Regions from separate parts of the Homo sapiens genome. Here regions 2 and 3 are each linked to region 1. The links are contacts of gene promoters, found by promoter capture Hi-C in blood cells and fetal thymus (Javierre and others, 2016). All regions are on one chromosome and are shown on one strand. The core of a region is centred on a gene start or on the middle of the fragment in contact, and the rest is flanking DNA. Distances in the headings are between cores, read along the strand shown. Region 1 holds the start of AQP5 (aquaporin 5). Region 2 holds the start of GPD1 (glycerol-3-phosphate dehydrogenase 1). Region 3 overlaps CERS5 (ceramide synthase 5).

Evidence for each region. The method cuts DNA at HindIII sites, captures the fragments that hold promoters and counts their contacts. A CHiCAGO score of 5 or more calls a contact.
Region 2: the fragment with the promoter of GPD1 here is called in contact with the fragment with the promoter of AQP5 in region 1 in 7 of 17 cell types (neutrophils, M1 macrophages, endothelial precursors and 4 more); the score reaches 8.5 in neutrophils.
Region 3: a contact is called between a fragment that was not itself captured here and the fragment with the promoter of AQP5 in region 1, in 1 of 17 cell types (neutrophils). The highest score is 7.6, in neutrophils.

What each region holds. Positions count from the first base shown.
Region 1 is chr12:49,960,505-49,963,903 of GRCh38, forward strand. It overlaps AQP5 (aquaporin 5), which reads left to right and starts at 1,368. Exons shown (of 4, transcript NM_001651.4): 1 at 1,368-1,876; 2 at 2,988-3,152. The coding sequence starts at 1,514. It overlaps AQP5-AS1 (AQP5 and AQP2 antisense RNA 2), which reads right to left and starts at 2,279. Exons shown (of 3, transcript NR_110591.1): 1 at 2,163-2,279. The HindIII fragment of the contact is 7,065 bases long and covers 1-3,399 here.
Region 2 is chr12:50,102,159-50,105,616 of GRCh38, forward strand. GPD1 (glycerol-3-phosphate dehydrogenase 1) reads left to right here and starts at 1,850. Exons shown (of 8, transcript NM_005276.4): 1 at 1,850-1,933; 2 at 2,416-2,593; 3 at 3,390-3,458. The coding sequence starts at 1,893. RefSeq lists an enhancer at 860-909. The HindIII fragment of the contact is 4,893 bases long and covers 1,628-3,458 here.
Region 3 is chr12:50,160,651-50,164,186 of GRCh38, forward strand. The region is part of intron 1 of CERS5 (ceramide synthase 5); the gene reads right to left. The region is part of intron 1 of LOC124902931 (a long non-coding RNA gene); the gene reads left to right. Among named protein-coding and RNA genes, the nearest start is that of CERS5, 5.0 kb to the right of the region's middle. The HindIII fragment of the contact is 8,796 bases long and covers 1-3,536 here.

The DNA.
Region 1 (3,399 bases), core at 118-2,617:
GAGAGAGACATGGAAAATGAGGTAGAAACAGACAGAAACAAAGAAAGGCACAAAAATTAAGAGGCAGAGGAAAGGTGAAAATAGCCAGGAGACAGAAACTGCAGGATGAGAGAAATGAATAGAGAGAGACAGAGAGACTAAGACAGCAAAAGGCAGGAAGGAAAAACAGAAAATGAGAAGGTGTGAGAGAGAGAGAGATGGAGAGGTGGAGAACAGAGAGACTGAAATGAGAAAGAGACCTCTCGGAGAGAGACCGAGAGGAAGAGGCTGGCAGAGGGAGAGGGTCAGAGACCAAAGACAGAGACAAAAAGAGAAATAGGGTTTTGCAAAGACTGACTGACAGAAACAGATTTCGAGGGGAGAGAGATCAAGACCAAGTGAGGGTTTGAAGGAGACTTAGGGGAGGTGGAGGAAGAGAAGGAGAGTCTTAGATCCAGGGTGAGGGGCTTCTAGCAGGAAGAGGGAAGACGCCAAGACCGCGCTTGGGAGGTCAGTGGTGCGTCTCTACCCCCCCTGCTCCCCCACTCCAACTCCCAGAGTCTCAAGGCCTCACGTCACACCCCCGTCCCGTCCCGTCGACAAGGGGAACCCCGGCCTGGGAGAGGGCGCCTCCGGGGATCCGTTGCCTAGTCCAGGTACTGCCCAGCTACCGGGCGTCGAGGATTGCGAAGCGTCGGGGCAGGCTGGCACGGTGCCCACTTTTCCCAAAACGCCAGCCTTCCAAGCCCAGAAGCTCGCCCGGCCCAGGCCGGGAGCGGCCCACGTCGGACGGCCGGACCGCCCTGCAGGACCCAGCCCGGCCGCCCGCCCCCGCCGCCGGCGGTGAGGGAGGTGAGCGGCGCCGACCTGCGGGACGAGCATCACTCCGACCCAGCCGGGGGTGAGGCGGGTCAGGATGCTCCGGTCGCAGGAGGAAAAGGAGGAGCTGGACCAAAAGCCCGAAGAGAAGAAAAGGGGAAGGCCGCGCACGGAGCGCGGTAAAGGCCGGCGGAGCTAGACGCCCCGAGGTCGGAGTGAAGCGCCGGGACCGAGCCCCGTCTCCCAGGGAGTCCGGGGCGCACGGCACCGAGGAGAGCGCGGGAGCCAACCTGGGCGCATCATGCGCAGGGCCCGGGACGCTGGGCCGGTCTACACCGCCGCCTGGGTCACGTGGCCCGGACGGGCCGGCGGCTGCCCCGGCCGGGGGGCGGGGGTCGCGCCGGGGTTGCGCTGGACGACGGAGAGCGGCGGGCCCGCAGCGGCCTGGAGCCTCCCAACCCGCGCGCCGCGCTGGCCCCCGAGCGTAGGAGCCGCCCCCTGCCCCCCCGCGCCGGCCCCGCGCCCGGCCGCCCGCCCCCTATATAGCGCGCCCCAGCAGGGCCCGCGCCAGGCCGCCAGCCTCGGAGTGGGCGCGGGACAGTGCGCGGCGCCCCGCAGCCAGGCCCCCGCCCCCGCCGCATCCACCTCCTCCGCCGCCTGCGACCCAACGGGCGCCCCCCGCCGCGGCAGCTGCCGCCGGGCCCCCGCGGCCACCATGAAGAAGGAGGTGTGCTCCGTGGCCTTCCTCAAGGCCGTGTTCGCAGAGTTCTTGGCCACCCTCATCTTCGTCTTCTTTGGCCTGGGCTCGGCCCTCAAGTGGCCGTCGGCGCTGCCTACCATCCTGCAGATCGCGCTGGCGTTTGGCCTGGCCATAGGCACGCTGGCCCAGGCCCTGGGACCCGTGAGCGGCGGCCACATCAACCCCGCCATCACCCTGGCCCTCTTGGTGGGCAACCAGATCTCGCTGCTCCGGGCTTTCTTCTACGTGGCGGCCCAGCTGGTGGGCGCCATTGCCGGGGCTGGCATCCTCTACGGTGTGGCACCGCTCAATGCCCGGGGCAATCTGGCCGTCAACGCGGTGAGTGCCCTGGGGGGGGGGTGGGAGCCTCGACCCTGGGGTGGGCTCAGGACCAGGCCTCTTACCCCACCTGGAAAAAAGGGGTGCCGCAGAGTGGGCCAGCCCACACCCTTCACCAGGAAGGCAAGAGCCTCCCAAGGCCAGGAAGGCAACTCTCCAGGCTGATATGTGCTCCCTTCCTGCCCACCTCCTCTCCCCCTCCCCTCATGCTGGCCCACCCTGGTCTCTCTCCAATGCCTGCTACCCCTCCTCTCCTGCCAGAAACTTCTGCCTCCTCCTGTCTCACCTTTGAGCTCCACCTTCCTCCTGGGCCCCTCACCTCTCCCATCACCTCAGTGGAGCGGTTGAGTAGAACCACCAGAGAAAAGCGGGCTGTCATCACGGCTTTGGGTGACCCTGGCCTGTCTGTGCTTCATTGTTCTCAGCGCCTCCATGGGGATGGTTGTGTCTGCCACAGCAGGTGTCAAGGGGCTCACATTTAGAAACCGTAGATAGGAACCCCCTAATGTGGGGCCAGTGCAGAGCAGTTTCTGTTGAGTATTGGTTCCCTCTTTCCCCAACCTGTGCTCCTCCCCTCAACCCCGCACCCCTGCCTCCCTCCCACCTCCTGCAGCCCCAGAGTCAGCCCCCAACCCCATGCAAACTGGGTTCATTAATCAAACACAGAGGAGGATTTGCTTGGCCATTGTCAAGCTGTGAGTCAGCCGCACTGGAGAGACGGGTTTAAGGCTGGCACTGGCATGGGGCCAGGCACGGGCAGGAGGCCGGGATGGGGTGTGAGGCAGGCAAACCGGGCAGCTGCCCACAGGATGGAGGGTAAATGCCAGCTTATGGGGGCTGGGGGTTGGGCAGAGCCATTGATAGGCCCGTGTCCAGGAAAAGCTACCCTGACGCTCTGCCCTTTGGCCACAGGCCTGAGCTTCAAGCCTGTGCAAACTATGAAATGTACAGTGTCTTTAACAAATGGCTTCGCTGGGGCGATGTCCACAGGACTTGGCTTCCAGGTGCCAAGGTGCTCTAAGTGTCCCTGGAGGCCAAAAGCCCTACTCCCCGAGCCCCTGGCTATACAGCCAGAAGGTGGCCGGGGTCCTAACCCGCTATCCCCTTGCAGCTCAACAACAACACAACGCAGGGCCAGGCCATGGTGGTGGAGCTGATTCTGACCTTCCAGCTGGCACTCTGCATCTTCGCCTCCACTGACTCCCGCCGCACCAGCCCTGTGGGCTCCCCAGCCCTGTCCATTGGCCTGTCTGTCACCCTGGGCCACCTTGTCGGAGTGAGCAGTACCGACATTGGGCTGGGGTGAGGGTGGGGCAGGCACTCAAGGCAAATAATGGAGCCCTGGAGCGGAGCCCACTTCAGATGGATGAGTCCAGCAGAGTTTAAGGCCTGGATTTAGGGCTCCTGGACTCTGGCCCTACTGGGCCCCAGAATTGATCCCCCCAAAACCTCTGGGCTGAGGAAAGATGGGAGTAAGTAGGAGGTGGGATGGGACAGGAATCAAACCCAACCTCAGAGCAGAG
Region 2 (3,458 bases), core at 600-3,099, 140 kb after region 1:
TCTACAGTTTGCTCTTGGGAAAAGAGCTCTAGTGATACAGATAACTTCCTGTGATGAGCCGATTCTGAATCTCTGCACCCTCTTTATTCCCATGTAAATGAGCACATTCTTAGTCTCCACACTATCTAAAATGATTGTAGGGGCAAAATGAGAGAGGGAAGCATTTAGGCAAAAACAAGGGGGTTATTTTATGCATAAACATCCATTCTTTGGGGCTCCCATCATTTGTGCCAGGGACAGAAGCATCCTTTCTCTTCCATCACCCGTAATCAGTGCTCCCAGCTGGCAGCCTGGCACTGGAGCCTTCATCTCAGTGCCAGTGCAATAAAGGAGTGGTCTGTGGGAGGCTGTTTCTGTATTAGGTATAACATTGTGCTAAGAAAAACAGCCAACTACTGATTTCATGTCCGTTTCCCTATGGGAAATTACTGGCCATGGAAGGAGAATATGGTTGGTTTTTCCTGGGCAGTCCCCGGAACTTAGAAAGCCATTTCTCCCCAGTCTTGACCTCCTGCCTGCTTACTCCTACCCATGGGTTGCACACAGACTCCCCTGTAGCCCAGTGCTTGTTACCAGTTGCTGGCCAGCAACAGCCCAGGGGGATGGCAACACCCACCTAGCCGTCTGCCAAGCCAGGAGGTCAGCACATGAGCACACAGTGGTGTCTGCCCTCTAGGCCAAGGTGCACAGTGTTAGGAGCCTCTTGCTCCACTCTCCAGATCAGCCTGGAAACCAGAGCTTCCCTCGTCTTAGACAAACAGATGGCCGTGGGCGATGCAGAGCCCTGAACTGCTGAGGGTGCTCCTTCCATTCTCGCCCTTCCCCAAAAAACATACACCAAACTTACCCCCAATCACAGCATCTGAGACCACAAAGCCCCACGGACACAGCTGCCCCGGGTACTGCCTGCCTTCCCCTTTTCTGGCCTCTGCAAACTAGCCATTCACCTGATGAAGCCCCTGGGGCAGTACCTTGGAAACCCCTGAGAGGAGGAGTTGAAGGAGGCTCAAAGCCTTTCAAGGACAGTGTGCACTCTGCCTGCCTCCTATTCTCTCCTGTCCTCTTAAGCCCAGAGTCTACAACAAAATTGTGTACCGCAATTCTCAGAGCTCTCTAACTTTAACCTTTCCCACCTTCCCTAGAACACATTTTTGGGTGGGGATCATCTGAGAGGCCCATGGATGAGTCCCCAAGATGACCTCTGTGGGTGACCAAGACAATCTTGTCTTTTGAGGCACCTGGAGTCTCTCATCCTTTTTTGAGCTGGGCTGTCCTCAAAGCAGGCCCTTACCTCTTATGTGGCCTCATCTTTAGAGGTGGGAAGTGGGCCCACATCCCCCACCCCAGCCCTGCAGTGGAGCTAGCGTGGGCCTGCTGGAGGACAGAACTGTGGAACAGGGTCCTGTGAGGATATGTGGCAGGGTTGGCGGGGGGATAGGGGGTCATGGAGGAGCCTACCTCTGAAAAGCATTCCCCTAGCTGCTACTGAAGCTAAATACAATTTATTTCATGCTGGGGGACAGAAAGGAGCAAGGGAGAGCAGTCACCTGCTCCTTATCTGGGCTATTTTCTTAGCAGACCTCAAAATGAGACCATGGTGGGAAGCTGGGCTGGGGCCAAGGGAAGAAGCTTGCCAGCACTGTCAGCCGATGAGCCCAGGAGAAAAAGCTGGGCCTAGTCTCTGCCCCATTCCTGTTCCACACCTGTCTGTACCCCTGTCTCTCCTTTCCCTGGCTCTGCCAGACTCTCTATCTCCCTGGGCGCCAGCCTCCCCACCCACCCCTGGAGGGCGGGGCTTGGCTGCACCCACGTGTGGTGGAGTTAAATGCTCCTAGCCGGCAGAGGAGCTAGGGAGTGTGGCACTGAGCCGGCTCAGGCAGAGACGCGGCACCATGGCTAGCAAGAAAGTCTGCATTGTAGGCTCCGGGAACTGGTAAGCAGCTCTGTCAAGTGATATGGGGGAAGGGTAGGCCCCCCAAGACAGAGGTGGGTAGGAGGCAGAATGGGTGGGAAAGGCCCTCAGGTTCCTGTTCAGCCCCTGCTGCTATCTTCTATCATAGCAGCACAGGACAGACGGTGCCCGGCCCTCTCCTGACCCCCGCCCTCCTGGGCAGCTGCACCTGTTCACCATGGGAAGGCGTCTCCAGAGCTCTCTATGTGAAGAGCCGCTTGAGTTTGGGGGTGGGAAGATGAGAAGTGGGGCTCCCTTCTCTAGTAGCAAAGGGTGAGGAGACTGAGTCTCCTTTCTACTGCCAGGTCACTGGGGACTATTTGTCATGGGAGTGGAGGTGATAAGGAAGGTAGGTAGGAGTGAACAGCCTGGGGGGCTGCTGTGAGATCCTGAGGTGGGGCGCTGCCCCAACTCCTGCCACTGTTCCCTCCTCCTGTACTTTCCTGTGCTCCCCCTCCCACCAGGGGCTCAGCCATCGCCAAGATCGTGGGTGGCAATGCAGCCCAGCTGGCACAGTTTGACCCACGGGTGACCATGTGGGTATTTGAGGAAGACATTGGAGGCAAAAAGCTGACTGAGATCATCAACACGCAGCATGAGAATGTCAAATACCTGCCAGGGCACAAGTTGCCCCCAAATGTGGTGAGCCCCAACACCCTGCGAAGAACAGGGAGAGGAAGGGAGGGCCAGGAGTTGGAGCCGACCTTACTCAACAGGTGCCTCCTGCTGAGAGGGCCGCTTCAGGTGCAGCAGGACTTGGGAAGGTCTCAGGAGGGCTGCTCTGGGCCCTTTCCTGAGGACTGAGGAGAACCTATGCTTTCCCCTCACAGGCTCCCAGGCGGGTGGGTGGGGAAGGGATGGGAGAACAAGTTGGTCTCCATGGCAGCCAAAGACTGGGCTCCCAGACTTGGGGTCCAGTAGTGCCTGCCTCCGGCACTAATCCTGTTACTCATTCACTGAGTGAGTAGCCGACTTGGAGGCTGCTCCTTGGACTTACGGTCTTTGGTCAAATCCACGTGGCTCTCCCCACCTGGAAAGGGGAAGCAGGGAAGAGAGCAGAAAGGCTGGGGCTCCCCCTTCCCAGCTGGGGTTCCTGAGGAGCTGGGTGATGAAATCTTATTTGAGCTCTTTCTTTTGCCAAGCCCAGGCTGCTTTTGGCCTCCCGCACTGTCCCACAGCCAAGGGATAGGAGAGTGCTGGGATGAGGTTTCCAGGAGTCCTCAAGAGCCCAGGACAGCTGGAGGGAGACAGAGTGGTAGCTGGGGGGAGGGAGTAGAGTGTCTTATTCCTCCAAGTTCAGTCCTTCTAGATTCAGTCCCAAACAAGCCTTCCTGCTCCCCTACCAGCCTCACTCTTTGGCTCCCAGATCTCCTGAATAGGGTTCCACAGGGGCTAGGGGAGGTCTGCCAGGCCCGCGAGCACTTGGTCACCCCCACAGGTGGCTGTCCCAGATGTGGTCCAGGCTGCAGAGGATGCTGACATCCTGATCTTTGTGGTGCCCCATCAG
Region 3 (3,536 bases), core at 969-3,468, 200 kb after region 1:
TATTGTCTCAAACTCCTACTTGATCCCAGGGAAAATATGCTCAAGGGACAAAATACTAAGTTTCAAACAATTTTATCTTTAAGATTCAGTTTAAGTCAGATCCAAGAGGCCTACTTGGACTTGGACCACACCTTGGACTATTCTTTCCCTAATCAGCACACAATATTCAAAGAAGCAACAAGTGGAAGACTTTCTTATCTCTCTTTTGATAGGTAACAGTGGGTAGCCTGAGTGTGTGTAAGAGGAAAGGGGAGAAAGAGAAGCTGTAGAAAAGTGTACAACATGCAAACATAGTATGGTGAAATTTAACAACAGAAACAAAGAAATTATAATTTCACCTCTCTTAAGCCAAATATCTATTTCAGATTGAATAATTAGATTCTGGGTTACTCCTCAGGGCATCTGAGTGGACAAGAATAGACCCTTCTCAATCATTATACTCACATGCTGCACTGAGGCACTGTGCAAGAGTACAGTCCACTGCAATGAACCAGTCAACAGAGGCCCACAAAGGCAAGCCTCTGTGCTTTGGTGGGTAATAATCACCTTTCTGCAGTTCTTTAACAAAATAGCTAAATATGCTTAACTTATGGTCAGATGGCTTTCCAAGTCATCCCCATCAGGTGAGGCTACAGTTCTCTATAGGGAATATGGAAACTTAAAAAATATTTAATAAATGCTCAGTGTGGTTGATGAGAAGGAAGAGAAAGTAAGACCAAATTGTACCCTCTATATTTATTCTTTGGGAGATTCCTGAAACACAAATAGAGACTATGTATCTAGGCACATAGAGTAAGATGCATTTAAATATGCAATAATGATATGAAACAAACAAAGCAAAGTTGGCCAGATGCGGTGGCTCACGCCTGTAATCCTAGCACTTTGGGAGGCCGAGGCAGGTGGATCACTTGAGGCCGGGAGTTCAAGACCGGCCTGGCCAACATGGCAAAACCCTGTCTCTACTAAAAATATGAAAATTAGCTGGCTGTGGTAGTGTATGCCTGTACTGCTAGCTACTCAAGAGGCTGAGGCATGAGAACTGCTTGAACCTGGGAAGCAGAGGCTGCAATGAGCTGAGATCAAGTCACTGCATTCCAGCCTGGGTGAGAGAGTGAGACTCCGTCTCAAAAAAAGAAAAAAAAAAAAAAAAGCAAAGTTCAAGTTAAAAGGATAATGTTAAATAACTAAGAACAGGATGAATACAGATTTGTTCTTCTTCTTTTTTTTTTTTTTTTTTTTTTTGAGACAGAGTCTCACTCTGTTGCCCAAGCTGGAGTGCAGTGGCATGATCTCAGCTCACCGCAACCTCTGCCTCCTAGGTTCAAGCGATTCTCCTGCCTCAGCCTCCCAAGTAGCTGGGACTTAAGGCGCATGCCACCACACCCAGCTAATTTCTTGTATTTTTAGTAAAGACAGGGTTTCACCATGTTGGCGAGGCCGGTCTCGAACTCCTGACCTCAGTTAATCCACCTGCCTTGGCCTCCCAAAGTGCTGGGATTACAGGCATGAGCCACCATGCCTGGCTGATTTGTTCTTTTTTTTTTTTTTTTTTTTTTAAATGTATATGAAGTGTGTAACAGGAAATAAATTTGTTCTTCAAATACTAGAATACTAGAACAAGAGGTTAAATCTTAACACTTGAAAGGGGGTTTAAGGAATAGGAAAAGATGAACGGCCCTATCAGTGAAAGAGAACTGGGCTGGGGAAAAAGACCAGTTGTATGTTGCAACCTCTGAAAAGCTGAAGGATGTTTCTAAGCCTTAGTAACTGTCTGTAAAAGGAGGCCGGAGTTCTAGCTTTTAGCAGTCTATGATTACTACATAAATCATTTCTACAAACTAAATAGGTAGGATTTTAGAATGAGAAAATGTATGCAAGGATTCTGGGCTCTGAAAAAAAGAGAAAATGTAGGAAAGATGACTAATTGTCCCAATATACCTCTTTATCTCTCTCTCTCTCTTTTTTTTTTTTGTGATAGAGTCTTGCTCTATTGCCTAAGCTGGAGTGCAGTGGTGTGATCTTGGCTCACTGCAACCTCCACCTCCCGGGTTCAAGAGATTCTCCTGCCTCAGCCTCCCAAGTAGCTGGGATTATAGGCACATGCCATCACGCCCAGCTAATTTTTGTATTTTTAGTAGAGATGGGGTTTCACCATGTTAGCCAGGTTGGTCTCGAACTCCTGACCTCAGGTGATCCGCCCGTCTCAGCCTCCCAAAGTGCTGGGATTACAGGCATGAGCCACTGTGCCTGGCCTCTCTTTCTTTAAGAGACAGGGTCTCACTCCTTTGCCCAGGCTGGAGTGCACTGGCGCTATCATAGTTCATTGCAGCTTTGAACTCCTGGGCTCAAGCCATCTTCCTGCATCAGCCTCCTGAGTAGCTGGGACTACAGATGCATGCCACCACATCTGGCTAACATTTTTATTTTTTGTAGGATCAGGGTCTCGCTATGCTGCCCAGGCTGATCTCAAAGTCCTGGTCTCAAGCAATTCTCTCACCTTGGCCTCCAAAGTGTTGGGATTACAGGTGTGAGCCACCATGCCAGGCCCCAATATTTATTTATTTTTGAGATGGAGTGTCGCTCTGTTGCCCAGGCTGGAGTCCAGTGGCACGATCTCAGCTCACTGCAACCTCCACCTTCCAGGTTCAAGCCATTCTCCTGCCTCAGCCTCCCAAGTAGCTGGGATTACAGGCGCCCGCCACTACGCGGGGCTATTTTTGTATTTTTAGTAGAGATGAGATTTCATGTTGTTAGCCAGGCTGGTCTCAAACTCCTGACCTCAAGTGATCTGCCTGCCTCGGCCTCCCAAAGTGCTGGGATTACAGGTGTGAGCCAGCATGCAAGGCCATGCCCCGATATTTTTGATATGCCTTCTATTGCATTCTACAAGTGGCTCTAGGCCAGGGGCAGTGGCTCATGCCAGTAATCCCAAAACTTTGGGAAGCTGAGGCAGCAGGATCGCTTGAGGCCAGGAGCTCAGGCCTCTACAAAAATTTATTTTATTTATTTTTCTGAGACAGGGTCTCACTCTATCACCCAGGCTGAAGTACAGTGGTTTGATCACGGCTCACTGCAGTCTCAACCTCCCGGGTTCAAGCAATCCTCCTGCCTCAGCCTCCCAAGTAGATGAGACTAGAGACTATAGGCATGCACCATCACACCCAGCTAATTTTTAAATTTTTTTGTAGAGACAAGGTTTCACCATGTTGCCAAGGCTGGTCTCAAACTCCTAGGCTCAAGTGATCTGCCCTCCTCGGCCTCCCAAAGTGCTGGGATTACAGGCATGAGCCACCATGCCCAGCCTCTACAATTTTTTTTTTTTTTTTTGAGACAGAGTTTTCCTCTGCAGCCCAGGCTGGAGTGCAACAGTGTGATCTTGGCTCACTGCAACCTCTGCCTCTCCAACTCAAGCAATTCTCATGCCTCAGCCTCCTGAGTAGCTGGGATTACAGGCATGTACCACTATGCCCAGCTAATTTTTATATTTTTAGTAGAGATGGGGTTTCACCATGTTGGCCAGGCTGGTCTCGAACTCC